Linked DNA regions of Homo sapiens: region 2 is linked to region 1. Evidence: promoter capture Hi-C in 16 types of primary human blood cells and fetal thymus (Javierre and others, 2016). All regions are on one chromosome and are shown on one strand. The core of a region is centred on a gene start or on the middle of the fragment in contact, and the rest is flanking DNA. Distances in the headings are between cores, read along the strand shown.

What was found. Contacts are between HindIII fragments. The CHiCAGO score rates a contact against its expected background, and 5 or more counts as called.
Region 2: a fragment that was not itself captured here is called in contact with the fragment with the promoter of INTS12 in region 1 in 1 of 17 cell types (fetal thymus); the score reaches 7.2 in fetal thymus.

The regions. Positions count from the first base shown.
Region 1 is chr4:105,706,764-105,712,329 of GRCh38, forward strand. It overlaps INTS12 (integrator complex subunit 12), which reads right to left and starts at 1,926. Exons shown (of 8, transcript NM_020395.4): 1 at 1,875-1,926. It overlaps GSTCD (glutathione S-transferase C-terminal domain containing), which reads left to right and starts at 2,021. Exons shown (of 12, transcript NM_001370181.1): 1 at 2,021-2,253. LOC124900747 (a long non-coding RNA gene) reads left to right here. Exons shown (of 2, transcript XR_007058214.1): 2 at 1,138-1,333. RefSeq lists an enhancer at 2,001-2,250. The HindIII fragment of the contact is 4,662 bases long and covers 1-3,032 here.
Region 2 is chr4:110,190,091-110,196,018 of GRCh38, forward strand. The region is part of intron 1 of ELOVL6 (ELOVL fatty acid elongase 6); the gene reads right to left. Among named protein-coding and RNA genes, the nearest start is that of ELOVL6, 5.6 kb to the right of the region's middle. The HindIII fragment of the contact is 1,138 bases long and covers 3,735-4,872 here.

The DNA.
Region 1 (5,566 bases), core at 676-3,175:
AATAATCAGAATTCCTGTGGATTCTGACGGCAATATTTTTCACACTTGTCCTACTTTTCACTTCCACTGCTACTACTGAAATTCAGGTTTTATTAGCTTACTTGAACTATGGCAATAACCTCGTTATTTTCCTTGACTTCAACATTGTTGCCATATGAATTTTCCTGAAACCCAGTTTTCTTCTTTTTCATTAAAATAAAAAAAAAAATTCTTGCTGAGAAGTTAGGGCTTTCTACCACCTTCGAAATAAAGACCAAATTTCTTGGCCTAGCATTTAAGAAGATTCAGTAACTGGCACAAAAATTATCATTCATCATCCCCAGATCTGCCTTATAGCTAGCTGACCCTGCCACTCTTATTTTTTTTGTCCAGGAAGCTCTTTACCTATTTTTATATATCTACATCCTATCAAGACCCTATTCAAATACTTCTCATGAAGATTTGACTGACAGCTGCTGTGCCCCTCTCCATTCCAAACCCTATTAATAGTCTCTCCATTCAAGGATATCTCATAGTGCTTTTTCATGGTATTGCAACTTTCTCCCTTGAAGCATTTTTTTTTTTTTTTGGCACAAGTGTTATGTCCCCTACAAAACTCTGAGTACTTTAAGGGCAGAGTCTATATTTATCTTTTTGCCTATCTCTTTGCCACTTTGCAAAGTACAACAAAATAATGGCTATAGAATTACTGGAATTAAGTGATCAAAGTATAGTGGTCTTATCTCTCCTTCTACACAATTGTAGCCATTTCCAAGGTCCCTTCAGCAAAAATCACAAAAGTAACTCACCCCTGCCCCCACAAAAAAAACTCCAAACATCAAAAAAGCAAAAGCAAAGCAATCACCTCTTTCACGACTGGGGACTTGTAGTACAATGTTCCTATCTGTAAAATTCTCACAATCTTTCGCCTGTCTTGCTTAATTCATTAATCCCACTGGTCTGTAAACTTGATGACAGCAGGAACTTGTTTTGTTCACTGTTATTTCCCTAGTGCTTGAAACTTAATAAGGGCTCAAAAATATTTATCGAATGAACGAACTAGGTTTTTTGCGTAAATGTCACCTTATAAGGCTTCTGTGATCTCTCCAGTCTAAATTGGGCATTCATATATAAATATAAGTATGTGCTTTCTCCTAGATCCATTTTTCACCCTACCTGGCAATCTCAAAAGAAGTCCAAAGTTGATCATATGCACGTGCCCCAGATGAAGGAAACAGAAACTGTTCACATAGAGTGCAGTATTATCGTTGCCATTTCATAATGGCTCTAAAAAACTTTGTTCTTCATGACTTCGCAAGCTCTTGCAACCCCTTCCAATAAACATTATTTTAAAGATGCTGCCTTTTTCATTCCTCCACTGAGTTCTTGGTTCTGGATAACACTGATACCTTAGGGACACCTGGAATCGCAGGAGAAAAGGCTCCGATTCCAAACCAATCAAGTGGCTGAAAGCTGACAGCAAACACTTAGAAAAGGAATGTCAATCCTTTGATCAAAGCATCACACATCGAAGTCCTAGAATGGGGGATGGTCCTTGACAGGGGAGCCAAAAGATGAGAGACAATGAGGGAGCTACGTAGAGAAGTCACTAAAACCCTCCGACAAAGTCCGAGGCAGGATTCCAAGTCCCTTGTCCCTAGACCTAGAAATATGCTCGGTCCGCATGTCCCGGCCCGCAACTCCCTCGGAGGAAGCACAGTCCTCACTGAAAGGGGAGAGCAGTCAGTCTAGGGCACGCAACCGCCCGTAAATTATGATTCCCCTTGAGGAGCGAGGAAACTAATACCCCACGTAGCTACTCTCCCACCTCGCTCCTGGCGCGGGGGTCTCGAGCCTCCAGGAGGCCAGGAGCAGAGTCGCTCAGCATAACTCACCGTTCCGCCCCGCCCTGCCGATCCGTCTGTTCCCGGTGGTCCCTTCGGAAACGGTTCCCGCACTGGCCGGCTCCGAAAGCAGGAAAACAAAGGTTCCCACAGTAGGGGCGGGGGAAACGTTTGGCAGTGCGACAGTAGGAAGTGACGTTACTTCCCTTTTTCCGGTCCGCCGGATTATGAATGACGGCCGGCGCGAGTATTTTCCACATAAGGTGGCTGTCGTTTTTCTCCTGGCGTCTGTGGAGGCGAGTGGTCTGCGGGCAGCAGCTCCCAGAGGCAGCCTTGGAATTCCAGCTCGGACTGGGCGGGAAGGCGCAGGCGGCCCAGGTCGCCGACACGCTCACGCACCCTCCCTGCCTGGCCGCGCCTCTGCGACCAGGTAAAGAGGGCGCTCGGGCCGCCGGCTTCTCAGCCTCCGCGACCCCCTAAGAACTGGTCTTTTCTTCGGGGGTCTGCAGGGCTGAGGATGCGGGGGAAGGGTGGGAAGGACAAGGGCGTGGTATCATCGTCCTGATTTTTCTCCCGCCCTGGGGCCGCCTCAAACTCCTTTTTGGCCACTCCTGCTGAAGGTGCGGGTTGAGGGCTCTGGGCTTCTCGGTAGTACGCGTTTCCCAGTTTCCCCCTAGCCAGTCCCTCATGTCTTCCTCTGCTGATGGAGAAATGGGGCAGCTTCCAGTTGGAGGCGTTGGTTGGGGTGGTTTGATATTTGCTGTTAAGTGTTACTTCAAGACCTCTTGGGTCACACTAACTTCTCTTCTCTCTTTGGCATTGAGTTTTCCATTCCAGCCCTTCCTGATTGCAGAAAGCAGTTCTATGTGAATACTACTTAACATTTACTCCAAAGGACTTGCTTCATTTGGGGCCATTTGCTTATGTTTTGTCATCACAGCAGTATCTCTTGGGTTTTTAACTTCTATAGAAAGTTTAATTTGCATGAAAGTTGCTTTGGTTTCAAAAACGTTTGCTAATACACGTACTTCCCATCCCAACTTTCTACCTGGTTTTGGGATGAGATGACTTGTTTTTTTCCCCTTTATTCTTAATGCCAGGATCCCATTCCTTGTCATAAATTCTTGAATATCAAGAAAATGCCAGCTTTAGTAATATATTGTGTGCTACATTATTGATAAAGAAGGTGGTGTATTTCTATTTTACCTAAGCTTATCTGTAAAAACAATGTTTACAGGAGAAAATGCAAAAGCTAGCAAGAACTAGTGATGTGATAATTTTAAACATGTAAACATAGTCATTTAAATCCATGATAATAAACTGTTATAACACAACTAAGTGATTCGCTGTCATATTTAATAAACATTAAGCTATGCGGGTTTTTTTTTCTTTTTTTTTAACTGCCTGATGGGGAGCATACACCACTGAGAGGATTGCTTTAAGCACACTCATTACTAAAAATTGTGTTTGTATTACACCTGAAAGTATCGTTTTGTGAGGTCTCACTTCAAAAATAAGACTGAAAAGGTCAATGAGATTTGAGAATCATCATTTCTTTTTATTTTATATACTTTGCACTTCTACGTGTTTTTGCTTTAATTTAAACACAGCTCAAACTTGAGCTTCTGTAGTAGTGGGCCCATCAATTTTTTTTTTTTTTTTTTTTTTTGAGCTGGAGTCCTGCTCTGTCGCCTGGGGATGGATTGCAATGGCAACATCCGCCTCCCGGGCTCAAGCAATTCTCCTGCCTCAGCCTCCCGAGTAGTTGGGATTACAGGCGCCCACAATCACACTCGGCTCCTTTTTTTTTTTTTTTTTTTTCAGTCGAGGAGGGGTTTCACCATGTTGGCCAGGCTGGTCTCAAACTCCTGACCTCAAATGATCCGCCCGCCTCGGCTTCCCAAAGTGGTGGGATTACAGGCGTGAGCCACCGCGCCCGGCCTGTTTTTGTTTTTTTAAACTTGTTTTACTTGTAGCTTTTGTTTCATCATCTGTGATTTTTAAATAAAAATAAATACTGAGTATCCAATTAGCTTTTCTAACAAAGAATAAATACTTGGAATGCAGATATTGAAACCATTTAGATTAAAACAAGCACAGGTATTGTTTGCTGTGAAAATTCAGTAATTTTATTTCATACTTGGTAACATGTTAGCCATTTGCGCTGTCGATCACTGTTAATTATGAGGTCGGGTTTAGCTGAAGGCATTATGACTCCATGGCAACAGATGATTCCCTGATTCTCCAGAGAGATTACACACTTCGTTTGTGGCTAAGGTTACTGTAAGCTTTTCACTTAAAAACTTTTCCTACTTCTTTACCAGATAAGAAAACAGCTAATTTTAATCACTGGCTTTTGTTCTCTAGGACTTAACTGCATCCCATATTACGTATTTAATGAGCTTGAAAAAATCTCAGTGTTTTTCTTATCGTTTTTGACCCTAAATATTTAAGGTAATTGGCTGCTATCTATCTGTTGAGGGGCATGTTTTTTTGTTTTGTTTTGTTTTGGTTAAATCTATATTATTGTAATAAAATAGGGTACAATTTTCAGCCAAATACTGTTGTTTTATGAAAAGCATAAAACACAAGATAAGTTATAAAATTCAAAATGTTGAACATATGATGTAGGAGAGAATTTAGGCAGGTTTAAATTTTAATCTTTAAGAAAAGTAAGTGTTTGTGATTTTTCATACTTATAAACTGTGTTGAACTTCTTATTTTGTACAATAGGTTGATATGCACATGGATTAAGGGTTTCACGTTTATATTTTACCATTTCATGATTCCCTGGCTTTCAGCCTCAGTAACAAATATGTTTTTTTTCAGTATTTGGTTGGGAAAAACTTTTCAATCAATATAAATCCTTTACCTTTCATGGAAAGAAGCTTGAAAATATAAACCATAATTTGGGTTTTGCCCATCAAGGTTTGCATATTTTAATAGTGCCAGTTGATAAGGAATTTGGTTATAAATTATAAAGAAATAATAGTAGCTAGTATTTATTTAAGGACTTAATATGTGACAAGCTTTTTTCTGTATGGCACACTACATGGTAGGTACAGTTATTATTGTCTCCATTTTATTATATAAGTGAGGAAACAGATATGCAGAAAAGTTTTTTATAGCTACTAAGAATCAGAACCAGTATATTTGCACCCAGGTGGTCTGGCTCAACAGTCTCGGCTCTAATCTATTACTTTATAATTCTTGTTTTATAAATATTCTTGCTAGGCACATGTATGGAATCTAGTTAAGATTCTTAGTTCCTTTGCCCTGGATATAAGTATACATAAAAACTTCTGTGCTTGCTTTATTTATGAGTTTGGTTAGATTCCATTTATACTTTTCCCGATTCACCTCACAAAGGTGATCTTATTTCTTCATTTTAATTTATACTTAGTTGGTCCTTAAAATAGAGTTATTAATTTGGAAAAGAAAGAATGGTGTCATGAAGAATGAGATACACATTGTACCAAGACTAAAGTTATTAATAATACTCTCAGACAGTGATTTCTGACATTCATATATGTACATTCATTCCTTGAACTAAAGTTTCAGTTCATTAAGCACTGGAGATGTTATAGTGTTAGGTGATAAGAGCTATGAAGAAAAAGGGAAGCTAGGTAAGAGGCTAGGGTGTGCTTTTTCAATTCAGGCAGTCAGGAGAGGCTGTTCTGAGTTAATATTTATGCAGAAAAATCAATGAAATGAGGGAGCAAGCCCTGTGAATCTCTTGGAGA
Region 2 (5,928 bases), core at 3,054-5,553, 4.5 Mb after region 1:
TTTTAGCAAGAAAAAAAAAACTGAAATATGAATCCCTGTAAATAAAAGTATTACAAAACTATGAGTGATTTTCTAGCAAAACTACTTACAATCAGCATGTCTAATTTATCTCAGCAAATTTATCTTAGCAAAGGTAAGTGTAAGTCTTTTTTCTCCTGTACTTTTTTTTTGTACAAAGTAAAGACTTAAAGTTAAATCTCAGTAAGTTCACAGTGGGCAACTAACTCAGCAAAGGGTTTCCTAGTAATAGGAACCTTAAAACTAAAAGTCGCAAACACTCAATGCAGAAAGGAATCATGATAAATGTGTAGGCTTGACCTTAGATGACTGACATGGTTCCAAGCTTTGGGATAACTATTGCACAACCAACTTAAAATTACAAATTCATATTCTTTACTCTTGGGCAATACTTTTTTTGTTTTGTTTTGTTTTGAGACGGAGTCTCACTCTGTTGCCCAGGCTGGAGTGCAATGGTGCAATCTCGCCTCACTGGAACCTCGGCCTCCTGGGTTCAAGCGATTCTCCTGCCTCAGCCCCTGGAGTAGCTGGGATTACAGGCGCCCGCCACCACGCCCGGCTAATTTTTGTAGTTTTAGTAGAAATAGGGTTTCACCATGTTGGCCAGGCTGGTCTCGAACTCCTGACCTCAAGTGATCCACCCACCTCAGCCTCCCACAGCGCTGGGATTACAAGTATAAGCCACCATGCCCGGCCACTTTTTTTTTTTTCAATTTTTGTGTTTTTTTTGAGACACAGTTTTGCTCTGTTGCCCAAGCTGCATTGCAGTGGCATAATCTCAGCTCACTGCAACCTCCGCCTCCAGGTTCATGCCATTCTTGTGTCTCAGCATCCAGAGTAGCTGGGACTACAGGTGCGTACCACCATGACCAGCTAATTTTTGTATTTTTTGTAGAGACAGGGTTTCGCCACTTTGACCAGGCTGGTCTCGAACTCCTGACATCAAGTGATCCGCCTGCCTCGGCCTCCCAAAGTGCTGGGATTACAGGTGTGAGCCACCATACCCGACCCATACAATACTTTTTAAAAAAGGACCCATGTATCTCTAAAATAAATTATTGGAGGGTAAATATAATTAGAGATGCTGGGTTTTTTTAAAGTTCTCAGAAACCTCAATAACTATGCCAACATTTGTACCTGCCTGAATACATGTACAATCAGAATCTGGATAAAGGAATGAAGTTATGAGTTTTAACATTACAATATAGCCAAGTCATAGTTTCACTCAGATTACCTAGGGTTATCAACAGAAATGACATATGTGGTACAGGTAACTTTCCCTAAACCCTCCTAAAAAAGATAAATGAGAAGTAAATGGGAGCGGGTGGATGTGAGCTACATAAAGAGTAAAGGGAGGGCTGAGGCAAACTTTGTAGAATGATGTCTGGTTCCTATTAATAAAGGACAGTTTGGCTCACCTGTGTCCATATGTGAAAAATTAAGTTAATCATTAAGACAATGTTTGGTTAACTCATTTCAGAAAATAAAATACTTGGACCTGAAATATTTCAGATCACTTAAGCCAAGATAAATTCCTGAATTGCCAGAATGGTGCCACACTCATTTTACTTTGTTGTCTAAAGACTGATTAGATGGGGGGCCGGGCACCTGTAATCCCACCTACTCAGGAGGCTGAGGCTTGAACCCAGGAAGCAGAGGTTGCAGTGAGCCAAGACCAGGCTCAAAAAAAAGAAAAGAAAAAGAAAATTGATTAGATGGTTATTGTATATCCCCCTAAGTATTTCAAAACCTCCGTCCCCCTCATAACTCTTCCACTATCTAAGCTGAAAGATTCCTCTGGCCGGGCATGGTGGCTCACACCTGTAATCCCAGCACTTTGGGAGGCCGAGGTAGGTGGATCACCTGAAGTCAGGAGTTCGAGACCAGCCTGACTAACATGGTGAAAACTCGTTTCTACTAAATACAAAAAAATCAGCCGGGTGTAGTGGCGCATGCCTGTAAACCCAGCTACTCAGGAGGTTGAGGTAGGAGAATCACTTGAACCCAGGAGGCAGAGGTTGCAGTAAGCCGAGATGGAACAATTGCACTCCAGCCTGGGCAACAAGGGCAAAACTCCATCCAAGAAAAAAAAAAAAAAGAAAGAAAGAAAAAAAAGAAAAAGAAAGATTCTTCTTTCAAGGAAGTATATAAGGCAACTCTTAGATATGGAATAAGTTGACTTTGAAGTTTCCAGCCATTTTTCTTACAAATGCACGCAGAAGGTTACGAGGAAGATTTCAGGAAGAAATTTAAAGCAATCCTCACTAAAGGAAAAACAACAGTGAAATACTATGTCTGCATTTGAAAAGTTTCATTAAGTTCCAATGTTATACACTTTGACACATTTAGAATCACCCTCAAACAAAAAAGCAACAGGCAATCCTCTGAAGATCACAAAATTTTACTTCCAATGTGAAAAAGACTTCATGAAAAAATTTTAAGCACTAATTATAACTAGTACAAATACACAGATGGATAATATAATCATAAAATATTTTGCATTAAGCTGGCTTTCATCCTTTGGAATCCTAAACAAGAATTGCATGAATATTTATAATTTATTAAAAGATACATGAAAGTTCATATCAAAGCTCCAGCACAACTTTACATTATTTTCTAGGACCCCACACAGATTACACGTTTTTTCTCTATGTATTTTCTCATTCTTCTCACTCTTAACCTAGTACATATGCCTACATCCCAGTGCTTTCTAAAAATTATTGAATGTCATGTTATGATCCTCACACAAGTTTTAATCCTAAATCAATATGAACTGTGATACCTCAAAATAAACAGCAAGTGACATGAGTACAATATAGACACACTATATTCCTACAGAGCTGACCAAATTTGTTGCTGCAATGTTAATGATGAAATGAAACTCTGGCCTACTCTGTTCCATAGTCACAGATGCACTGTTTTCCAGCCATTTTTCTTACAAATGAATGTAGAAGGTTGCAAGGAAGACTTCAGGAAGCAATTCAAAGCAATCCTCACTAAATGAAAAACAACAGCCAAATACTATGTCTGCATTTGAACAGTTTCATTAACATTATGCTGCTATATTTTTTATGCTGCTATATTTGAGTTAAATGCTAACACAGGTTTTTAGTGCTTTTTATGTTCTTTAATCATGAAATTGTACATCGTGTTACTTTCCAAACTTCACCTACAAAAAAGATATAGATGTACAACTCCTTTTAAAATGTTTCACGGCCGGTTGCAGTGGCTCAAGCCTGTTATCTCAGCACTTTCGGAGGCCGAGGTGGGCGGATTACTTGAGGTCAGGAGTTCAAGACCAACCTGACCAACACGGTGAATTCCCATCTCTACTAAAAATACAAAAATTAGCTTGGTGTCATGGCAGGCACCTGTAATCCCAGCTGCTTGGGAGGTTGAGACATAAGAATCACTGGAACCCGGAGGCAGAGGTTGCAGTGAGCCAAGATTGTGCCACTGCACTCCAGCCTGGGCAACAGAGTGAGACCCTGTCTCAAAAATAAAACAAAATAAAATAAAATGTTTCACTCCATTTTTACCTTTGGTAAAAACAAATTTGTGAATAAAAAGGCTTCCTCAGCTGAACAGCATTTAATTCTTAAAATTCCTATACTATCTTATAGACTCTATAATACAGAATACAAAATGTTAAAACAAGTAAACCCTTTTACACCACCAAGGGAGTGAGTGGGGAGAAAAGTCAGAAAAATATATAAAGCTTTGAAAGGCTGGATGTGTGGAGAATGCCAGGAGAGGGGGAGGGTTTCATGAAGTTCTAGGCAAGCCCTTTGAAGACGTCACCTCACATACATAATGTTACAGCAGTCAGCACAGGCCTCCTGCTTTCCTATTGGTGGGCACCGTGTCAGCCGACATCAGAAGATAATCATCATTGGCTAGACAATTACAACTGGAGCAACTAGCATCCACTGCTGTTAGCACAAACCTGGCAGGCTGCTGAAAGAGAAGGCAGAGAGAGCCCAGCTTCCCTTCTCACTCAATGAATTATATGTCGCCTTAGCAATCACCAGGTGATTTTGCTCCCTGGCTAGCAGCACTTCCAACTTAAGTCAGCTCTTAGTGAGAAAAACAGGTAAAGGCCAGACATCTCATAAAAGAGCAAAATGTCTCTATTTTCAATGTTGTAAAATTGCAAGGACTTTTCAGTGAAAATTAGAATTCAAAACTCCTATTTGGACCTATGAGCAGACATTTTTCTCTACCTCATGTAATAAACTCTCATTGACCAGATAATATAACCAGACAGGATATTTTTCACTGGACATGTAGTTTCAAGATGAGGCCCAGGATGATTCTACAAGGGAATACACTTATTACTTTGCATTTCAATTGCTATTCTAACCTATTATATATGAAACTTTTTGCTAGCAAAGTAAAAAAAGTCTGCAGTATTTACTTTCATGGCTAGGCCAATGAGTATGAGGTTAATGATTCATTAAAGCAGCAATAAACTTGAAAACTAGCCTCAGTTGAACCCTTTAGGGTTTATACAAATGCTACTCCAAAAGTCGGGCCCCATTCCATTAACACGTGCTATGGTTAGTAAGTATGGATTATAGGGTATGTTAACATTAATTTGCGCTATGGTTAGTAAGTATGGATTATAGCGTATGTTTAATAAAGTATTCTTATTTTAGGTCCTCTTAAATGATGCTAGTTAGCAAAGGCAGCATACTGGCAAAATACTACTCCTGGCCATTCTCACAGTTCTTCAAAAGCCAATGTAGTTCACTTTTGAGAGAGGATGTTTTAATTCTCTAAATTAACAAGTTTTGCCTGTTACTAAGAAGAGATTTATAAGGACAACCATAAATTCCCAAAAGACAGAGTAGAAGCTTCACTATATCATGTTTTTCCTCCAGAAGCTATTTCAAACCATTTTAAGTTAATGAGTCTGAAAAAGGTAAGATTTTATGGTTTCCTCAAGTTCCTCTCTCCTCAAGAGGGTCTAAGCCTTGGTTATGGAGTTCCCTTCTCCTATTAAAAAGGGAGTGAAAAGAAAATCTGGTTCAAGACTTTTTGTCCTGCATTAGCTGGATTCTATTAAAAATAAAAACTAAAAGCTTTAATTTGAACCTCCCGGGTTCAAGCAATTCTCCTGCCTCAACCTCCCGAGTAGCTGGGATTACAGGCACCCGCCACCACGCTCGGCTAATTTTTTTGTATTTTTAGTAGAGATGGGGTTTCACCATATTGGCCTGGCTGGTCTCGAACTCCTGTCGTCAGGTAATCCACCCACCTCAGCCTCCCAAAGTGCTGGGATTACAGGCAGGAGCCACCACACCCGGCTAATAAAATTAAATTTTAAAAAGTGTTTAAAGTCTTTTTGGCTGTACAGTTTTTGGGGAGGGAGGAGAGATAAAATTGGGCACCCTGGGATATTGGGAGAAATGCACAAAATCTGGCATTTAAAAAAAAACATGAAAGTAAGACAATTAGGGTCAGGAAGAGTTGCAAGGGAGGGGTAACAGCCAGCAGGGTTCTTTGACTGCAATAAGCAATCTAAGAACATAACATCAACAGAGAGCAGAAGCCAGGAAGGGAAAAATCCCAAGATGTGACTCTGCCACGGTATGCAAGTTCTAGCCTGTTAACCTTCGGGTATTAACGAGTAGTGCTGGCAATAAAATGGGCACCAATCACCATTTCAACTCACTGGACATTTTCTCAAGAATGTGCCTTATGCAAAGCACTCTGCTAGGTGCTTTGCAGAATCAAGAGTGGGATGACAAGAACCGTAACCTGAAGAGCTGATGGTCTGTAAGTTAATAACCATGTATATAACAGTAAAGGATATTGCCAGAAGAAAGGTACAGATAAAGAACTAGGAGGAAACAGTGGTCAGAACCTAACAGGAGTAGATACGTTGGCACATTTTTGTCATTTTCA